Linked DNA regions of Homo sapiens: region 1 is linked to region 2. Evidence: promoter capture Hi-C in human tissues and cell types (Jung and others, 2019). All regions are on one chromosome and are shown on one strand. The core of a region is centred on a gene start or on the middle of the fragment in contact, and the rest is flanking DNA. Distances in the headings are between cores, read along the strand shown.

Region 1 (2,932 bases), core at 272-2,771, 240 kb before region 2:
TCCTTATTAGTAAAATCATGCTTAACTCACAGAGCTTTTGTGAGGAATAATTGAGGTAATGGTCATAAGTACCTTGTTAACTGCAAGGGGCTATTCTTATATGAGGGATTGTTAACAATAAAAAAGAAACTGCTTCATTCTTTTCTTGGAAGGTGCCTGGAGTACTACAGCAAGTTCAAACTCCTGCCCAATTTCAGGGTCTTTAATGATCCTGTCCTCCCTTCCTCATTCAACTTGTTGCCAACAGCATGGCCCCTCCAGCCTAGCTGGGTGCCTCACAGTGCTATGTGCACCTGACTCTCATGTGTCTGCAGATCAAACCAATAAACATTTAGGAACACCAGCTTTGTAGAAGTCTCTGTACCAGCCCAGGGGTTACCAAGTTCCTCTCTTCAGGAGTTCTTGTCTAGTTACAAGTGGAGATGAGATAACGTATGTAACCCTCTCCTATCTCCAACCTCACCTTCTCAAGAAGCCTTCCAGAGGGAGCAAACATTATAGTATTCATCATTACCTTCTTGAAACCTTTCTTGGCTTTTCTGTGAGTTCTGTGTTTTCTTCTAATCTGGCCCACTTACTCTCTTATATGGATACCTCTTTCTTAGCCCCTTGAATATTTCTTCCATTAGAGTTCCAATCTGTATTCTACTTGAGAAATCTCACACCCATGATATCAACTATTACCTACACACTAATGACTCAAAATGACTGTCACTAGCCTAGACTTCTTATCCTTATTTTCAATTCTGGGCATTTCCACTTAAATGCCCCATCGTTACCTAGAATCTAACATATCCAAATTAAGCTCATTATCTTGGGGTTCACTGTCAGCAAACATTTCTCGTTGATTTCTCGTCTTGCTTAGTGTTACCAGTGATTCATATATTGCCCATTTTAGTGGGTGATATTTAGCCCTTTAGCTAGACCACATTAGTGCATTGGATATGAGTGAGCAATCATTCTACCTAAATCTCTACTCTCTTGGGTTTTGTGATAGTACTCTCCGGTTCTCCTGTTCCTCTAACTATTCCCTCTAAGGCTTCTTTCTGAAATCCTCAACTCTCTAACTGTAATGTTACTGCTCCTCTGGATTCTAGCTTTTACCCCCCAGACTTCTTTCTCTGTTTACTTACATTTAGTGATCTCAGCTATTCTCATGGCTTTAACTGCTAACTTCCAAATCTATACTTCTATCCCTGAACTTGCCCCTGAGTTTCAGAATCTTATTTATATCCAGCTGTTTGCCTAACAAATATTTGGATGTTCCAGAAGCCCACAAGCACCTCACATTCAAATAGCTGAAACAGCCTATCACCTTTCCTCAGACCTGAATCTCCTGCTTCTGTTTTCCCTGTCTCATGATGGGAGATGTGAGACAGGGAAACCATTGTCTCATGATGGGAGGCTGTGAGGCTAATGGAATTATTATTCTCCTATCATTTAAAACAGAAAGCGCTTGAGTTGTCCTTGATGCCTACATTTTGCCTACACAGTCAATTATCCTTAAACCCTAATCCCTGTTTCTCAAATCTAACTCCTCCTCTCCTTCTCTCAACTCTCGCTGGCCTAGATGTCTCTCACATAGTCTTTTGGAATGTCTTCTCTTCTCGCATAGTTTCACTTCCTTGAGTACACTGATCACATATAGCTACTCTTACCTTTCTAAAATATAAATCTGACTTGAATTCTTTAATGTCCTCTAATACTTCCACCGGGGCATAAAAAGCTGCCAATGACCTGGCCTCTGCCTATCTGTAATGGTTTATTGCCTAGTCTTTTCAGAAAGCATTTCCTTTCTTTCAAGGGAACTGCTCCCCCATTTCAACTGTGCGATTATTAGGAACATGCCAATTTTAGAGTAGTACTGTCCTTACCCTTCCAAGCTATGGAAGTGTGTATGTGGTCACGCTGTGTCTATCAGAGTCCATAACTCACATTTTCTAAATAGAAAGTAGGGGAAGTGCTACTCTTTGTCAGTATGAGAGATTGAAGCCAGAGGGGAGCCAAGATGAGAGACAGACTGAAAGATGTCCATGGCACTCAGCTCTGAATTCTGATCCTTGACATTCCAAGTCTCTACAACTCTTCGTTCTGTGAGGTATTTGAGGATTCTGCAAATAAACTTAACCCCCTTTTCTGCTTAAAGTAGTTGGCATTGGGTTCCTGTCACTTGCCAGTAAGAGACAGAATAATTGCTCTGCAGCTTGTGTCATGTCACACTTTTCAATTTTGTGATCTAGTAATTGTTCTGCATCTGGTCCCCCCACATCCACCATATAGCCATGATTCCTTGCCTCTGTTCATGGTTTCTCCTACCTGAAGCTTCCTTATGTCTTTGTCATTCTGCTAATTCTTCCTGTATTGGGGAAAGGCCAAAGGGCATGCCCTGGTCTGCATCAATACCAGTGAATTAAAGGAAAGTGGAAGGAGTGAGTCCTGTATTAGAAAGCCCTAGGTACCATAAAGCCTGTGATCATCACTCCTATAGCTACCACCAGACAACCTCACTGGTCAATATTTCACCTGTTAACTACTAGGAAAGAGCAGAATTGAGTGCAGGGGGTCCTAGGTTTTAATCTGTCAGTTCTGAGAGTTTAGCAGGAATGGGGAAGGAGATTGATATGATTCTGTATAGAAAAAGTTTGGCACTTCTATCATCCATATCCCTTAGCTTTCCTTTTGTGTTTTCTTATAGTTATGTCACCAAGAGAGTTATTAAAAATATTGATGTCTGGGTCCTACCCCCATAGATTCTGATATAATAGATCTGGATACAGTGTGGGCATTTGGATTTTTAAAAGCTCCCCCAAGTACTTAAGTGTATCCAGAGTTAACTGCTGCTCTGTGGTGCCTGATCAGTCTGAACCTATTTTCATGGTTAAGCATTCTGGACTGTTACCATCAATTTCTGCAGTGAAGGAGTAGGCAATGA
Region 2 (3,286 bases), core at 713-3,212:
TAGGTCTATTCAGATTTTCTCTTTTTTCTGGAGCCACTTTGGTAGTTTATGTCTTTCTAGTGATTTGTCCATTTCATCCAGGGCACCTAATTTGTTGTTGGACAGTTGTTCACAGTATACTCCTGTAATCCTTTTGTATTTCTGTAAAGTTGGTAGTAATGGCTCTGCTTTCATTTATTATTTTAATAATTAGTCTTCCATCTTTTGCTCAGTCAATATAGTGAAAGGCTTGATCTTTCAAAGAATCTATGTTTATTTATTCTACTGCTCTCCAACCTTTTATTTTATTGATTTATGCTCTAATTATGCTCTTTATTATTTCTTTCCTTCTGCTAGCTTTGGATTTAGTCTTTTTTTGTTTTCTTCCACTGCCTTTAGGTATAGAGTGCGGATATTGATTTGAGATTTTTTCTTAAAATGTAGTTGTTTATATCCATACATTTTCCTTTGAACTCTACTTTCACTGCATTCAATAAGTTTTGGTATGTTTTGTTTTTATTTTAATTTGTCTCAAGATATTTTATAATTTTGCTTGTAATTTATTTTTTCACTCACTGGTAGTTGAAGACTGTATTGTTTAATTTCCACATTTTCATGAATTTTCCAGTTTTCACTTATTTATCTGTTGTTTCTTCCATTGTGGTTGTAAATTATATTTTGTATGATTTCAAACTTTTAAAAATGATTAGGACATATTTTGTGGATGAAGATATGGCCTATCCTAGAGAAAGTTCCACATAACTTGAAAAGAATGTATATTCTGCTGTTGTTGGGATGGACTGTTCTGTATATGTGTATTAGCTCTCAGTGGCTTCTACTGTTGTTTAAGTCTTGTATTTCTCATGAAGCTTCTGTCTGGTTTTTCTATCCATTAATTAAAATGAGGTATTGAAGTGTCCAACTGTGACTATAGAACTGTGGGTTTATCCTTTCAATCCTGTTAATTATTTCAGCTTTACTGAGGTGTAATAGAGAAATAAAAATTGTACATGTGATGCGTTTATATGCACATTCTGAAATGATTACCAAAATGAAGTCAATGAACATGTTAATTACCTCACAGAATAGTTACCTTTTCGTGTGCATGCGTGGGATAAGAAAACTTAACTCTATCCCCTGTGACTGCAGAGTGGCCATTTCAGCTGCTCCAGGCTCAGGCAGAGGAAGACCAGGGCAGGTGGCACCACCAGGGGGGCCCTCAGGCCTGGCGCGCACGCATTCCAGAGGCCACCCAGACCATGCTCCGCTGCCTGGGCGCCCAAGCTGCAGTCGCCCTCTGTGTGCAGGCAGCAGCCTCTAGGCAACTCCTGGGCCCGCCCGCACTCCCCACATCTCGGAAGCAGGGCCAGATGTCCCTGTGGCTGCGGCCGAGCCAGGCGGTCTGCCCTGCAGCAGCTGCACGGGGGCGGGAACCGGCCCTCAGCCCCATCCCCGGTGGCTGCAGAGGGCCCCTGGCTAGAGGTCTCGAGCTCTGGCAGAGGAGGAGCCGGGAGGGGGCAGGGTCTGGCGGGCTCTCAGGCCAGGGGCACCCGCGATCCAGAGGCCGCCCAGGCCATGCTCCACCACCTGGGCGCCCAGCTACAGGCGCCGGGCAACTCCCAAGCTGGCTGGCGCGCCCAGCCTCGCAGAACCGGGGCTAGATGTCGCCGTGGCTGCGGCCAAGCCAGGCGGTCTGCCCGGCGGCGGCTGCACCGGGGCAGGAACCGACCCTCAGCCCCATCCCCGCGGACGGTCCCTGGAGCGGCCCCGATCTCTCTTCGGAGAAGAGGGGCGGGAGTCACGGCCAGGCGGGAAGGGATGCGCGCCTGAGATTCCGGAACGTCCCGCGCCAGCCCAGGAGAACCCGCAAGCCAGCGGCGCCTGAGCCCGAGCTGCAGTCACCCTCTGCGGGCCACGCGAGCTCGAGGGCGCCTTCCGGAGTCCGGGCTGGCGCTGAGCTGTAGGCGCGCGCCTAACCGCTTTACTGGGCTCACTCTATCGAGAGGTCGGAGGCTGCGAGTGTCGCTGCTGAAGGCTGTAGTGGACCGGGCTGGATCGCGGATTCTGAGCTACATCGCGGGTTTGGGGGTGCATCTTGGATTTAGGGGTGGATCGCTGGGTGGGGAGGGGGATCTCGAATTTGGAGCTGGGTGGGGGTGGAAAGGCCACGAGGAGCCGCGGCGTCTCAGGAGCGGGTGGTGGGCATCTGAGAAGTCGCCACCATGAGGAAGCTCCTCAGTTTTGGGAGACGCCTGGGCCAGGCGCTCCTGAGCTCCATGGACCAAGAGTATGCGGGTCGGGGGTACCACATTCGGGACTGGGAACTGCGGAAGATCCACAGGGCGGCCATCAAGGGCGACGCCGCAGAGGTGGAGCACTGCCTGACGCGCAGGTTCCGGGACTTGGACGTCCGCGACAGAAAAGACAGGTAGCGGGGGCTCAGCCCTCGGTGGGAGGGGGCCCCCAGGCCCGGTTTCCCCGCACCGCCTGAGGCGGGGTCGTCGGAGTTCGCCGGGACCCTGGGAGCCGCGGAGCCAAATGGAGCCTCAGCTGCTTTCCATCGCTGGGAATTTCCCGCCTGTAGCGCTTGGTGGATAATTGGAGTGATTTAACTCACAAAGTTAAGCATATCTACGTTTAAAACATGGAGCCATATACATGATAGGGAGGTGCCTAATGAGAACTCATTCCCATGTCAAAAATACCATGAGCCATTTTCAGTAGGCGAAGAGTTCTCAGATAAAACCCTGTGTCGGTTTTACATCCAAATCCACCTAGGTAGATAGGTTCTTTACTGGGGCTTCTTAGAGGGACACTTGGAAGTGGGAGGTGGGTTCCTTGAATGAGAAGACTCAGTTTTCTCAAAATGTGAGCTCTTAATATGTTTATCAGTTTTACATAAACCGAATGAAAATATCAAGGTTTTATCATTTTTGCATGACACTTGCTGTCTGTCTTACCATTGTGATGACATTTTAAAATGTTTATGATGGAGTGAAAAACGACTTGCTCCTCTAGATATCAAAACGTGCTATTAATTCCCACAATTAATTATTTACTAACAGCTACAAACACATATAAATAAATGGAACAGAATAGGAAATCCAAAAACACTGAAATATATGTAAGATATATACATAGGGATTGATAATGGTAACATTTCAGATGAGTAGGAAAGGACGAGTTATTAATAAAATGCCTGCTGTGTGAAGAAAACTAATGAAATTTTATGTCACAAAAATGAGTTCCTGATGGAATACAGACTGAAATTTTTACATATGCAAAATTAGAAAAATACCAGAAGAAA

The links. The method cuts DNA at HindIII sites, captures the fragments that hold promoters and counts their contacts. A contact is called where the count stands out against the background at its distance.
Region 1: a contact is called between a fragment that was not itself captured here and the fragment with the promoter of ANKRD18B in region 2, in 1 of the 25 tissues and cell types used here (thymus).

Annotation. Positions count from the first base shown.
Region 1 is chr9:33,281,728-33,284,659 of GRCh38, forward strand. It overlaps CHMP5 (charged multivesicular body protein 5), which reads left to right. Exons shown (of 8, transcript NM_016410.6): 8 at 1-343. Among named protein-coding and RNA genes, the nearest start is that of NFX1, 7.3 kb to the right of the region's middle. The HindIII fragment of the contact is 7,030 bases long and covers 1-2,932 here.
Region 2 is chr9:33,522,289-33,525,574 of GRCh38, forward strand. ANKRD18B (ankyrin repeat domain 18B) reads left to right here and starts at 1,963. Exons shown (of 19, transcript NM_001393611.1): 1 at 1,963-2,407. The coding sequence starts at 2,202. RefSeq lists an enhancer at 1,330-1,379. The HindIII fragment of the contact is 14,531 bases long and covers 1-3,286 here.